2 separate regions of the Homo sapiens genome follow, and region 1 is linked to region 2. The links are contacts of gene promoters, found by promoter capture Hi-C in blood cells and fetal thymus (Javierre and others, 2016). All regions are on one chromosome and are shown on one strand. The core of a region is centred on a gene start or on the middle of the fragment in contact, and the rest is flanking DNA. Distances in the headings are between cores, read along the strand shown. Region 1 overlaps CEP85 (centrosomal protein 85). Region 2 holds the start of CRYBG2 (crystallin beta-gamma domain containing 2).

The links. The method cuts DNA at HindIII sites, captures the fragments that hold promoters and counts their contacts. A CHiCAGO score of 5 or more calls a contact.
Region 1: a fragment that was not itself captured here is called in contact with the fragment with the promoter of CRYBG2 in region 2 in 1 of 17 cell types (naive B cells); the score reaches 5.1 in naive B cells.

The regions. Positions count from the first base shown.
Region 1 is chr1:26,248,173-26,254,991 of GRCh38, forward strand. The region is part of intron 3 of CEP85 (centrosomal protein 85); the gene reads left to right. Among named protein-coding and RNA genes, the nearest start is that of CEP85, 17 kb to the left of the region's middle. The HindIII fragment of the contact is 3,570 bases long and covers 3,382-6,819 here.
Region 2 is chr1:26,348,902-26,355,800 of GRCh38, forward strand. It overlaps CRYBG2 (crystallin beta-gamma domain containing 2), which reads right to left and starts at 5,229. Exons shown (of 20, transcript NM_001039775.4): 1 at 5,135-5,229. RefSeq lists an enhancer at 468-1,314 and a silencer at 2,530-2,728. The HindIII fragment of the contact is 7,544 bases long and covers 2,472-6,899 here.

The sequences.
Region 1 (6,819 bases), core at 3,917-6,416, 100 kb before region 2:
TGTGTAATATTCTATCAATTGTGTAATCAAAAATCTTACTGTTAATTTAATTTTCACTTGTTAAGGTTTTGTCTACATGTGCAGTCATAGGACCTTTTTATTTTGATTAAATAATAGATATTTTTAAAATCAATCAGTGGTCTAGATTTTTCCCCCATTGAAATGACCAGCTGTATTTAATTCAGTTACATTGCTACACAGATTGTGTGTGTGACTCTCTTTTTTATTCTTTTGGGAAAATAACTTACATTCTAGTGCATTTTTTAAAAGTTGTAATAGTCTTCTCGAGATAGGGGTCAAAGATATTGGTCTAGAAGTTTTTTTTACTTCTTCTTATTTTTTCGAGACAGAGTCGCTCTGTCGCCCAGGCTGGAGTGCAGTGGCCCAATCTCGGCTCACTGTAACCTCCACCTCCTGGGTTCAAGCGATTCTCCTCTTTCAGCCTCCCGAGTAACTGGGATTACAGGCGTGTACCACCATGCCTGGCTAATTTTTGTATTTTTAGTAGAGATGGGGTTTCACCATGTTGGCCAGTCTGGGTCTTGAACTCTTTTTTTTTTTTTTTTTTTTTTGAGACCGAGTCTCGCTCTGTTGCCCAGGCTGGAGTGCAGTGGGGCAATCTCGGCTCACTGCAAGCTCCGCCTTCCGGGTTAATGCCATTCTCCTGCCTCAGCCTCCCAAGTAGCTGGTACTACAGGCACCCGCCACTACGCCCGGCTAATTTTTTGTATTTTTAGTAGAGACGGGGTTTCACCGTGTTAGCCAGAATGGTCTCGATCTCCTGACCTCACGATCTGCCCACCTCGGCTTCTCAAAGTGCTGGGATTACAGGCGTGAGCCACCACGCCCAGGCCTAGACATTTTTTAAACTGCTATGTTTGTTACATACCATGATCCTAATCTTAACTCTTTTTGTGTGTTTGTTTTGAGACGGAGTCTCACTCTGTCACCCAGGCTGGAGTGCAGTGGCATGATCTTGGCTCACTGCAACCTCCGCCTCCCGGGTTCAAGCGATTCTTCTGCCTCAGCCTTCTGAGTAGTTGGGATTACAGGCGTGTGCCACCACACCCAGCTAATTTTTGTATTTTTAGTAAAGACGGGGTTTCACCTTGTTGGCCAGACTGGTCTCGAAGTCCTGACCTCAGCTGATCCACTCACCTTGGCCTCTCAAAGTGTTGGGATTATAGGCGTGAGCCACTGCTCCTGGCCTCTAATCTTAACTCTTACACATTTTGTTCATGAATCTAGCTTGCGGTCTAGTTGACAAGAACCCCTGTGACTGGTATACAGTATAGTTCATTGTTGCATCTTTAAATTTAATAGGCATGCTTTTGATTCCACCCTTCTTCACTAAGGTGTTTTACCTTGAAAGATTCTCGAGGGACAGAGTAGAGGTGGGTACTGAAGAGTTCAGAATGCTTTCAGCTCTTTGCAAAAGACTGAAATAGTCACTGGTGTAATTCAGGCTACTGAATCACTTCAGGTGTAGACTGAAGTGACTGAGATTTGGTAATAGCTGAATCTACCCTTACTGTGAAAGGAAGTTTGCTCAAAAATGAGTTGTTTTTTAGGGTGGGGAGGGGTCATAAAATGTGGTTAAGTAGGGGAGAGATTTAGAACTATATTCTTAAAATGGCAAAACCCCAAAGTTTTTGGGAACTGTAGATTTCTGTAAATAAAAATCACATATCCCATGCATTGTATTTTTTAAAGAGATGGATCTCACTGTGTTGCCTACACTGGAGTGCAATGACTGTTCACACAGGTACCATCATAGTGTACTATAGCCATGAACTCGGTGGGGCTCAAGTAATCCTCCTGAGTTAGACTACTGAGTAGCTGGGCCTACAGAGATGCACCACCTGCCTGGTTCCCATACACTAAATTTTGAATGCCTTTGAAAATTGTAGAAGATAGAGGTCCCTTTGAAAATGAGTGTTGCTATTTCATTTCAAAATATTCTAAACCACAGACCAGACTTACGGTGTAACTCAGAGGTCCCCAACTCCTGGCCCGTGGACCAGTACCAGTCCATGGCATATTAGGAACCAGGCCACACAGCTGGAGGTGAGCAGCAGGCGAGCAAGCATTACTGCCTGAGCTTGCGCCTTCTGTCAGATCAGTGGTGACATTAGATTCTCATAGGAGCACGAACCCTATTGTGAACTGTGCATGTGAGGGATCTAGGTTGCTCAGTCCTTACGAGAATCTAATGCCTGATGATCTGAGGTGGAACAGTTTCATCCTGAAACCATCCCCCCAACCATCGTCTGTGGAAAAATTGTGTTCCACAAAACGATTCCCTGGTAACAAAAAGGTTGGGAACCGCTGGTGTAACTTTACATTTCATAGCACAGTTAGTCTGAATCAGGCAGTTTACTTAATATAAATAGATAAACCCAATAGATAAGTTAAAAATGTGGACAAAGACCTCACCTTAATTTTCTAATATGTCCATTTATCATCTATAAAAAATTAGAAAAGCCATATTCTTCTGGGTCAGTTGGTACTTTTCTTCTTGGCTTTGGTTTTGGCATTATTTTGGGGTTATCTTAGTGTATTTTCTGTTACTGTAAGAGAATACCTGAGACAGTGTAACTTATACAGAAAAGATGTTTATTTTGCCCAGGGTTCTGGAGAGTGAGAAGTCCAAAGGCATAGTGGCAGCATCTGGCGAAGGCTTTTGTGCTGTATCATAACATGGTGGAAAAGCAGAGACCACTAGAGTGAGCCAAGCTTGCCTTTTTTTTTTCTTTTTTCTTTTTTTTTTTTTTTTTTTTTTTTTTGAGACAGAGTCTTATTTCTGTCACTCAGGCTGGAGTGCAGTGGTGGGATCTTGGCTCACTGCAGCTTCCGCCTCCCATGTTCAAGTGATTTCTCCTGCCTCAGCCTCCCGAGTAGCTGGGATTACAGGCACCCGCCATCATGCCCAGCTAATTTTTGTATTTTTAGTAGAGATGGGGTTTCACCATGTTAGCCAGGCTGGCCTTGAACTCCTGACCTCAAATGATCCGCTTGCCTCTGCCTCCCAAAGTGCTAGGATTACAGGCATAAACCACCGTGCCCAACCCAAGCTTGGTTTTTTTTTTTTTTTTTGAGGTGGAGTTTAGCTCTTGTTGCCCAGGCTGGAGTGCAATGGTGCAATCTCGGCTCACTGCAACGTCTGCCTCCCGGTTTCAGGCGATTCTCCTGCCTCAGCCTCCTGAGAAGCTGGGACTACAGGCATGCGTCACCACGCCCAGCTAATCTTGTATTTTTAGTGGAGACAGGGTTTCTCCACGTTGATCAGGCTGGTCTCAAACTCCGGACCTCAGGTGATCCGCCCACCTCAGCCTCCCAAAGTGCTGGGATTACAGGCATGAGCCACCATGCCCGGCCCCAAGCTTGCTTTTATAACAACCCACTGCTTTGAGAACTAACTCACTTCTGCTAATCTATTATGAGGCTTCTACCCTCATGACCCAGTCACCTCTTAGAGGCCCCCACCTCTTAATACTGTTACATTGGCAATTAAGTTTCCAACACATGAACTTTTGGGGGACAGACACTTTCAAACCACAGCAGGGGGTGTGGGCTCAAAACTGAATTTGGTGAATCTAGAGAGAGTGGTGCTATGGATGGAGACTGGAAGGAGGTATTGCAAAGTTCATGGTAGCAACCCCTCATGTGCTACAACCTCACAGTCTTCTGTTTTGTAATTACACCGTGGGAGCAGTGACCCTTGGTAAGAACTGATAACTATGGTGCTGTTATGGAGGATTTAAAACATATTGCTTATGGTTAAGCACGGTGGCTCATCCCTGTAATCCCAGCACTTTGGGAGGCCGAGACAGGTGAATCACTTGAGGTTAGGAATTCAAGACCAGCCTGGCCAACATGGTGAAACCCCGTCTACTAAAAATACAAAAATTAGCCAGGCATGGTGGCGGGCTCCTGTAATCCCAGCTACTCGAGAGGCTGAGGCAGAAGAGTCGCTTGAACCCAGGAGGCAGAGGTTGCGGTGAGCCAAGATCGTGCCACTGCACTCCAGCCTGGACAACAGAGTGAGTGAGACCCCATCTCAAAAAAGAAAAAATTGGGCCGGGGGCAGTGGCTCACACCTGTAATCCCAGCACTTTGGGAGGCCGAGGCGGGCGGATCACCTGAGGTTGGGAGTTCAAGACCAGCCTGACCAGCATGGAGAAGCCCTGTCTCTACTAAAAATACAAAATTAGCCGGGCGTGGTGGAGCATGCCTTTAATCCCAGCTACTTGGGAGGCTGAGGCAGGAGAATCGCTTGAACCCAGGAGGAGGAGGTTGTGGTGAGCCAAGATCGCGCCATTGCACTCCAGCCTGGGCAACAAGAGTGAAATTCCGGCTCCAAAAAATAAAACAAAAAATTGTATTGCTTACTAGTCTTTGAAGTCTTTATCACTAGCAGTCTGCCTTAACCTTGTGTACTAGTCCTATATTTAAGTTGTGAGACATCAGAAACTGGGTCCTTTAACTGAGAAATTTCTTTCTTGGTCCTGAGAGACTAATGCATGTTATCAGAACTTATTCAGGTTTTTGTTTTGTTACGTGTGTGTGTGTTTTTTTAGTGTGGCCTTTTATATATCCCCAAGATCATCTTCAGTATAGCAAATTAGATACTATGCATGTAATATAAGGCTTGCACGTCTTTTTTTAAAGTATTTATTCCTCCTGTCTAACCGAAATGTTTTACCCTTTGATCAGCATCTCTCGATTCCCCCTGCTCCCAGCTTCTGGTAACCACAATTATTCTCTCTGTTTCTATGTGTCGAGGTTTTTTTTAGCTTCCACATATAAGTAAGAACGTGCAGTATTTGTCATTTTGTGCCTGGCTTATTTCTCTTAGTGTCCTCCAGTTTCATCCATGTTGTTGCAAGTGACACAATTGACATCTTTTATAAGGCTGGTATTCCGTTGTGTAATATACTGCATTTTCCTTATCTGTTCGTCTGTTGATTCTATAACTTGGCTATTGTGAATAATTACTCAGTAAACATGGGATTGTAGATATCTCTTGGACATACATATTTCATATCGTTTGGATATATACCCAGAAGTGGATTGCTGGATCATATGGTAACTATTTTTAGTTTTTTGAGGAGCTACATACTCCATTGTTTTCCACAGTGGCTGTGTTACATTCCCCCCAACTGTGTACTAGAGTTCCCTTTTCTCTGCATCCTCTCCAAACTTGTTATCTTTCATCTTTTTTTTTTTTTTTTTGAGATGGAGTCTCACTCTGTCGCCCAGGCTGGAGTGCAGTAGTGCGATCCTGGCTCATTGCAACCTCCACCTCCTGGGTTCAAGCGATCCTCCTGCCTCAGCCTCCCGAATAGCTGGGACTACAGGCGCGTGCCACCATACCTGGCTAATATTTTGTATTTTTAGTAGAGACAGGGTTTCACCGTGTTAGCCAGGATGGTTTCGATCTCCTGACCTCATGATCCCCCCTCCTCAGCCTCCCAAAGTGCTGGGGATTACAGGCATGAGCCACTGCGCCCGGCCTCATCTTTTTCATCATAGCCATTCTGACAGGTGTGAGGTGGCTTGCCCATATTTTTAAAGAGTTGCTTAAGGCCGGGCATGGTGGCTCACACCTGTAATCCTAGCACTTTGGGAGGCTGAGGCAGGTGGATCACTTGAGCCCATGAGTTCGAGACCAGTCTGGGCAACATGGCGAAACCCCATCTCTCCTAAAAATACAAAAACTGAGGTGGGAAGATCACCTGAGCCTGGGGAGGTCGAGGCTGCAGTGAACTGTGATCACGCCACTGTGCTCCAGCCTGGGTGACAGAGTGAGACCCCATTTCAAAAAAAAAAGTTGTTTAATGAGAAGGTCGTAGCTGATCTATACTTACATAATTCTGGGAACAATTATAGTATTTGTTGTTGTTATCTGAGTGTTCTCTGTGTTGGTTGCTGGGGAGAAAAAGAAACAAGTTGGTAGTCGCTCTTCTCCGTGGTAGATATGCTTGATTTGGGAACGAGTACTGAATATAGTTGAAAAGAGAAGAAATTGGTATTCCTTATTTCCTTATTCAGTTTTCTGCCTGCTGAAAGCAATAAGTATGTTACCTCACATTCCTCCCTTATTGTTTGCTTGCAGTAGTCCCCCTCAGAGTAGTACTTGAAAGTTGGAAATAGGTAGAAATGTGAACCTTGTATAGTAGGGCTAATCAAGGGTTGTCTCCCAAGACCAGGCAGGAGCCAAAGGAAACACAAATTCAGTCTGAAGGAAAAGTTAAAAAAAAAAAAACACAGTTGGGTACACACAAGGGGGCAAGTGAAAGGCAAAATATAAAATAGAGGATTTCAGTGTGTACCCAATTGAGAGTGCTCACTGTGCTAGAGTGAAACCTGAGAGTTACTAAGAATAACTTCACATATCCAGGCAGTCAGGTTTGGGGTATGGGAGAGAGAACAGAATCCTGCCTCAGATGCCATACTCCCTGTCCTGCATACTGAGCAAGACTGTCTAGTTCGCTTCATTCTTCAGATAGTTTGGACTCGTTGCTCACCTTCCTGGGGGAGCTTTTGGAGGTCGCAGAAGATTCTGGTGACTCTTGGAAAGGATATTTTTATTAGATTTGATTATAGCTGAGAGTTGTCCAGCTTCCAGAAGAGTAGGACCTAACTCATTTTCCTTAAGTAAGTAATTTGTTTTAAAGTTTAAATTTTTTAAAAAACTTTTTAAAAGTTTTTCAGCTTTGTCTGTTGACTGACAAGATTTTTTTTATTCCAGTACAAAGGACTAAGTTAAAAGTGAAGTCATTATTGCCTTTTGTTAGTTTACCTTGTGAATGGCAT
Region 2 (6,899 bases), core at 3,979-6,478:
CTCACGCCTGTAATCCCAGCACTTTGGGAGGCCGAGGCAGGCCGATCACCTGAGGTCAGGAGTTCGAGACCAGCCTGACTAACGTGATGAAACCTAGTCTCTACTAAAAATAAAAATATTATCCAGGCATGGTGGTGGGCACCTGTAATCCCAGCTACTTGGGAAGCTGAGGTAGGAGAATCGCTTGAACCTGGGGGGCGGAGGTTGCAGTGAGCTGAGATCACGCCTCTGCACTCCAGCCTGGGCAACAGAGCGAGACTCTGTCTCAAAATTAAAATTTTAAAAAAAAAGTAAATAAATGGAGCCCCTTGGCTCCGTTAGGGCACTTGGGCTTTACAAGGCACTCTTCCCTCGATTCTGTCCTCTGTGATTTTTTCCCTACTGAAGGTTAAGAAACCGAGGGTCAGAGAAGACGAGTGACTGGCCCAGGATGACGCGGCTATGAGGTTGTCAAGCAGGGATTTAAATTCCCATCTTCTGATTTCACATCCAGGCATCCTCCCTCCTACCCCCAGGCCACAGCTCTGGGGCATGTCCAGCTGCTCCTGTGATCATCCTCAGCAGAGCATGTCTCACCCTCCGTCCTGGAGGGGTGGGGCCTGGGTCTTGTTTCTTTTCTGACTCTTCCTTGATCTCTCTGGGTCTCCATAGCCTCCCTTACTAAATGTAGGATAATATTAACACCTGCCAAAGAAGACCTTCTAAGCTTCTGCTATGGCTTGAATATTTGTCCCCTCCAAAACTCATGTTGAAACTTAATCCCCAATGTGGTAATATTGAGAGGTGGGGCCTCTAAGCAGTGATTGGGTTATGAGGGCTATGCCTCATGAATGGATTAATATACTCATGGATTAATAGATTAATGGTTTAATGGATTAATGAGTGATCATGGGAGTAGGACTAGAGGCTTTTTTTTTTTTTTTTTTTTTTTGAGACAGGGTTTTGCTCTGTTGCCCAGGCTGGAGTGCAGTGGCACAATCTCAGCTTACTGCAACCTCTGCCTCCTGGGCCCAAACAGTCCTCCCACCTCAGCCCACCGAGTAGCTGGGACTACAAGCCTGCACCGCTATGCCTGGCTAATTTTTGTATTTTTTGTAGAGTTGGGGTTTCACTATGTTGCCCAGTCTGGTCTCAAACTCCTGAGCCTAAGAGATCTGCCCACCTCCGCCTCCCACAGTGCTGGGATTACAGGTGTGAGCCATTGTGCCTGACCGGACCAGTGGTTTTATAGGAAGAGGAAGGGACACCTGAACTAGCACCTCAGCCCCACTGCCATGTGATGCTCTGAGCCCCCTCGGGACTCTGCAGAGAATCACCAACAAGGTTCTTACCAGATGCACCCCCTTGACCTTGGGCTTCCAGGTTCAGGTATTCCATTATAAGCAACAGAAAATAGACTAAGCTCCCTAGGAACTCTCAGGTGAATTTCTCTGTTTTACTAGTTGCAACAACAACAAAAACAGCCATTTGGGGAGGGCTGACTCTGCCAAACACCTTGCTAAGTGCTTTAGATTCATTGTCCCATTGAAGCCTCAGAAGAATCCCAGGAGCTTGAGACCTCATAAAGAATAAATTATTAATAAATTAGATCATACCTTCCCATTTTGCAGATGAGATTTTTTAAATGCTCAGAGAGGTTAAGAAACTTGTCCAAAGTCACAGAGTAACCGAAACAAGACTTGAACCCCAACCCTAAGTGCTCACTCACCATACCAAACTCCCTAATATATGTATCCTATAACTGAGTCTCTGGTTTGGGGGTTTACATTTACAGGGAGCCATGTCAGTCCTGGAGGGCGTCTCCACCCCCACTCCCTGACTTCCAAGCTACACTGACCAGGGCAATCCTATTCTTAGGCCCCACGAACCCCAGAGAGGCCAGCCTGTTCAGCCCGAGTCTTTGGGCCTTCTCCATGAGGTACCCTCCCCTCCCCAAGAGACCTGACTCTGGGCAGGAAATGGACCCACTGCCCCCACTCCCCTCCCCCATTTCCCATTGTCCTCCTTCCTGAGAAGCTGGTGGAATTCAGAACTTTGACCCTTCCCTGTGGCCACAGCAGTGACTCAGGCTTTATGAGGGGCAGAGATGAAAGAGACTGAAGCCCCGGGAAGCCTGACCTGACTCCAGGACTGCTGGTGGCTATGACAGTGTCAGGGACAGGGTCCAAGGGGGACTGGAAGGTGGAGGGGTTAGGTAGAGCCCTGGTCATTTTCCCAGGCCAGGGCTTCCTGAGAGCAGTACACAGCCAGACACCAAAGGCTCTGGATTTTAGCCTCTCACTGAGGCCCCAGCCCACTCCCCTGTCCCCATTAGGGAGCTCCCTTTTTCCTCATGCAACCCCTGCCCTCCTCGCTGGGACTCTGCCCAAATGAAGTTTGACGCCCTCGCTGAGCACCTCCTAAGCCCCTGTCCACCTGCCTTCCACTCTCCGAGCTTCCTTGTCTCTGATGGTGCTTATAGTAAGTGGCAAAGCTTGAGCTCTAACTCATTCATTCATTCATTCAATTACTCACTCATTCAGTGCTAATTGTATCAAGGGATGTGCTAGGCCTTGGCTAGACTCAACCAGAACCAGAGCCAACTTTCTCATGAAAGGTGGCATATTAAGAAGCCAGGGGCCAAGGAATTAGACATAAAAACAGGGACATTTGGAAAGCGCCATAGGCATCAGGAAAGCGACAGGAGAGCAATGTTAAAGGAGGCGGCCGATCATGAGATCAGATATTGTCGATGACCTCCTACCAATCAGAATTTAACGTCTTTCTCAACCAGCCCAACCCCTGGACAACACCCCTGATAGCCAGTCATTCCACAAGCATGTGGTCATTGGCTTCTGCCTGCATACCTCCAGGGACAGGGAGGTCACCACTCGACAGTTCACCTGCCCCGTCCCTGAACAGTCATGAGTGCTAGAATGTCCTTCAGACTCTGCTGGAATGTGCCTGCCTATAGATGCCCCCTTTTGTCCTTGCTCTGAAGACATACCCCAATACAATGACCCAGGATGCCTCTCCTGGGCCAGCAGAAGGGGCCATTCCCAGAGCCCTTTCTTCTGCAGGGCCCCAGACCAGAAGTGGATTTGTTGGCAGCGTGACCTGTGACCTCCAAACAAGGCGTGTGGAGCTGGGAAGGGAGAGGCTGAGGAGGGGGCGGGGGGAGTGTGGGAAAGAGCCTTGTCTAACCCAACAAGTCCTGGATTCTCCCCACTTACCTGTGAGTCACCCCCAAACTAGGCCAAACCAGTCCACAGGCCCACATGCAGGCAAACACATGCTGTGTCACACAGACGCAGGCACAGACACACAGACAGATACCGACACAGACCCACAATCACACAGGCACAAAGATACACCTAGAAGCCTATAAAAACATACACAACCAGGGACACACACACAAATATACACTCACCCAAGAAATACAAACACGCACAGGCACTCAGAGCCACAACAGACACACAAATCACATACAGACAGAAACACAGGCACAGTGACACACACGTGCACACATTCACAATACACACACAGTCAATTCACAGCCCCAAGCTCTCTTCCCCTTGAAATTCACCTACCCCTGAACGTGGACACACACGCTTGGATGCACACGTATCTTACACATTCCCACTGGCAGTCCCAGCTATGTCTCACTTCTTCTCGACTCCCATATTTGCCAATCTTGGCCCAGAGAACCTTCTCCCAGGAAGGGGACATAGAAGGATGATGTTTCTGGAGGTCACCTGCCCCCCACTCTAAGTGAGCCCTAGCCTCCCACCTGAGTCTGTCATTATCCACCTGGGCCCAAAATACCCAGGTAGTGGCAGATAGAAACCACCTCCCCCCAGCTAACCCTACTTCTCTTTCCCGTCCCCCTCTCCAAGGTAGCCTCCTCCACCCCCCTTCCCTCTCTCTGCAGCCCTTGTCCCCCAGCCCCTGACTTCTGGGGCATCCAAGCAGGTCTCAGAGCCAGCCTGGGTCCTACATCTCCCTCTTCCTTGGCACGGAAGCAGTCACATTGACCCCTGCTTGGAGGACCCCAGCATTCCTGATTCTGCCTCTGCTACTACAATGCTGCCCAATCCACCGCCATAGGAGCCTAGAAAACCCTGGAGCCCACACAGCAACCTCACTCAACCCTCCACTCTCTGCACAGGGCCAAAGAGGTTTCTTCCAGGCAGGATGGAGCAGTGGTTAGAGCACAGGCACTGGAGTTATAGAAACCTAAGTTCAGATTCTAGCCCCTTCACTTTCTAGTTGACTTTGAGCAAGTGACTTTCAGAGCCTCCTAGAATTAGGTGACAGGGGTTGGGATCAGTCCCTACTCATGGGATGGTTGGGAAGATTAAATAAAATTATGCTTAGAAAACAAATTGCAAATGACAGCCACCCCATCATCCTTAAGCACCCTTCAAAACCCCACCCCAGGCTCATTTCCTCTTCAGGGTCATCCCTGGGAGGTTCCATGTTCATCCCTCCTTGATGAGCTTTGGGGGACATATCCTTCCACCTCTGCGCCCCCCAGGCAGATTTAGGAGAGTCATTTCAACACAAATAAAACTAGGCTTGGGAAACTCGACACCCACTCCTTTGGCTTCCAGCTCAGAGCCAGGTGGGGTAATTATTGCTGTCACTGAGACGTAATTAATAAGCATCCCTGCTATTTTGGCACCCCCAGTCTCTGGAGTTCAAAGTATATTCCTGTAGCCACCTCCTCCTTCCTCATTTTCAGCTACCAAATCCTCTCAACAACTCAAGGCCCAGAGAGGTTAAGCAACTCGCCTCAGGACACCCAGCACCTAGGCTGGGTGCCAATTCCCAGGCTGAGTCTGTGGCCTCCTGAACAGAACTGGGGAGTGGTGTATGCTGTGAAGAAGGCAACCCCCCTTCCTGCCCATCCTCTCCCTGACAGACTTTCCCCTTTCTCAGATGGACAGTGGGGGTGAGAAGCAGTGGGTTCCAGGAGGTAGCCTGTGGGCAAAGGGAGGGAGAGGAAGGCAGGGTTGGAGCAGGGAGGGAAGGCAGAGTCGGCTCAGGGTCCTGAATGAATGGGCCTAGAGCTGGAGAGGCCCAGGGAATAGGCAAAGTCTCAAGACAGGGCAGCCAGGCCAGTCTCCCCTCCCATCTCCACACACAGACCGACCTCTACTCACAGTCTGCGTGGGGACCCAGGTGTCCAGCCAGCCTGGAGCTCCTGCTGCTGGGCCGTGCTCCCCTGATGCGATTGGGCTCTCAGCTGGGGTTCCTGAGGCGGGGCCGTCCGGCACCCTGTGATGGGGCGTGGCCCCTGGGGAGGCTCCCACCAGCCCTCAGATTCCTCAGGGCCGCAGAGGTGTGGAGCTGGTTGGGCCGGTTCTTCACCCTCCTCCCCTGGTGCTTGCCTGTGCCCCAGCAGGGTGACAGTGATGTAGTAGCGGGTCCTCCTGGAAGAGGGACGCGTGTGTAGGGTCTGGGCAGGCTCTGGCAAGGCAGTCCCTGGGGTGGCGGGCTTGCCCTTTGTCCCCTCTGCCCTGGGGAAGGATGCAGGGTGGAGCAGCAGGGGTGCGTCTTCCAGGTTGCTGGGTGGCTCAGGCCTCAGAGGGACCTCTGAAGCTGTGGGTGGAGACTGCTGACAGGTGCAGCCTGAGGATCCCTGCTCCCCATGTCCAGGAGCAGGCCCTGGGTATTGGGGGAGCCTGGTACGAGCAGACTCTCCTGAGGCCACTTCCAGGGCCAGGCTCTCAGGCCCCAGGGAGGCATGGCTGGCCAGGTCGAAGGCGCTGCCCACCGCTGGCCTCTGTAGGCGCCCCAGGGACTGAGCAGGACCCCCCGAGATTCCTTGTTGCTTCCAAATCCAGAAATCATCATGGTCCCCTACATGGATGTCCCATTCTGAGCAGCTCTGGCCTTGGGCCTGGGTGAAAACAGAGATAGACACTGAGAGAGGCAGGGGCATAGTGACAGCTCCCCCTGCCCTCCAGGCACCCCTGGTACCTGGTATCTTCCCTGTCACAAGGAAGCTGAACAGGGCTCTGACACCAAGGTAAGCTGCCCTAGGGAGAGGCTGCTAAGGCCACCAGAGCTGGACAAAGGGACAGAGCTCTGGGAAGGCCCTTCAGCATTTAACTCACCCCTTCCCATTCTACGTAAGAGGAAAGTGGGGCCCAAAGAAGACGGCGACATGACTGAGATCACACAGCAAGCCAGCGAGGGCTCCCAACGCTCAGGTGCCGCACTCCCTCCCAGGTGACAAGGCACCCAGGGCCTGGCCGGCCATGCCCCCCAAAGGCTGGAGATCTCAGCTTCCTTGCAGTCCTGAGGTGCTTCCCCGCCCTGGGGCTGAGGGCTGGGTGGGAAGGCCTGCCTCAAGTGCCCATGGCCTCTGCCCATTCCAAGCTAACAGAGAGACTGCGGCCACCTCTCTTGTACCCTCCCAGCTTGAGACAGAACACCTGGGAGGATGTACCTGGGATATAAGGGAGCCAGAGAAGAGGGTTCCCCTGAAATGGGACAACACCTGACCTCTTCTGCTGTCTTCCCCTGGGGTCCAGCCTGGCTGTGGGGATAAGAGGAGAGGGCTCAGCACCCCAGACCCAGATGGACACTGCCCCCAAAACGACCCGTTTTAAAAGATGGGCTGTTTCCTTGGCAACAGAGGAGGTCAAAATTCCGCCTAGCAGGGATCCTTGCTGCCAAATGCCTTAATTTACTCATCTATGAAACAGATGCAGCCTCTCATTCCCCAGGGGCTGACCACCTCAAGAGACAAGAGTACAGTGATGAACCTGGAGGCTTGGATCGAGGCAACCTGGGCTTGAATCTCCGCCCTGCTGCTTCCTATAATAGCTGCAGTACCGTTTGTATTTCAGTTTCCTCATGTGGAAAATGGGTGTGATAATAACAGTACCTGCCTCCTGAGAGTGTGGTAC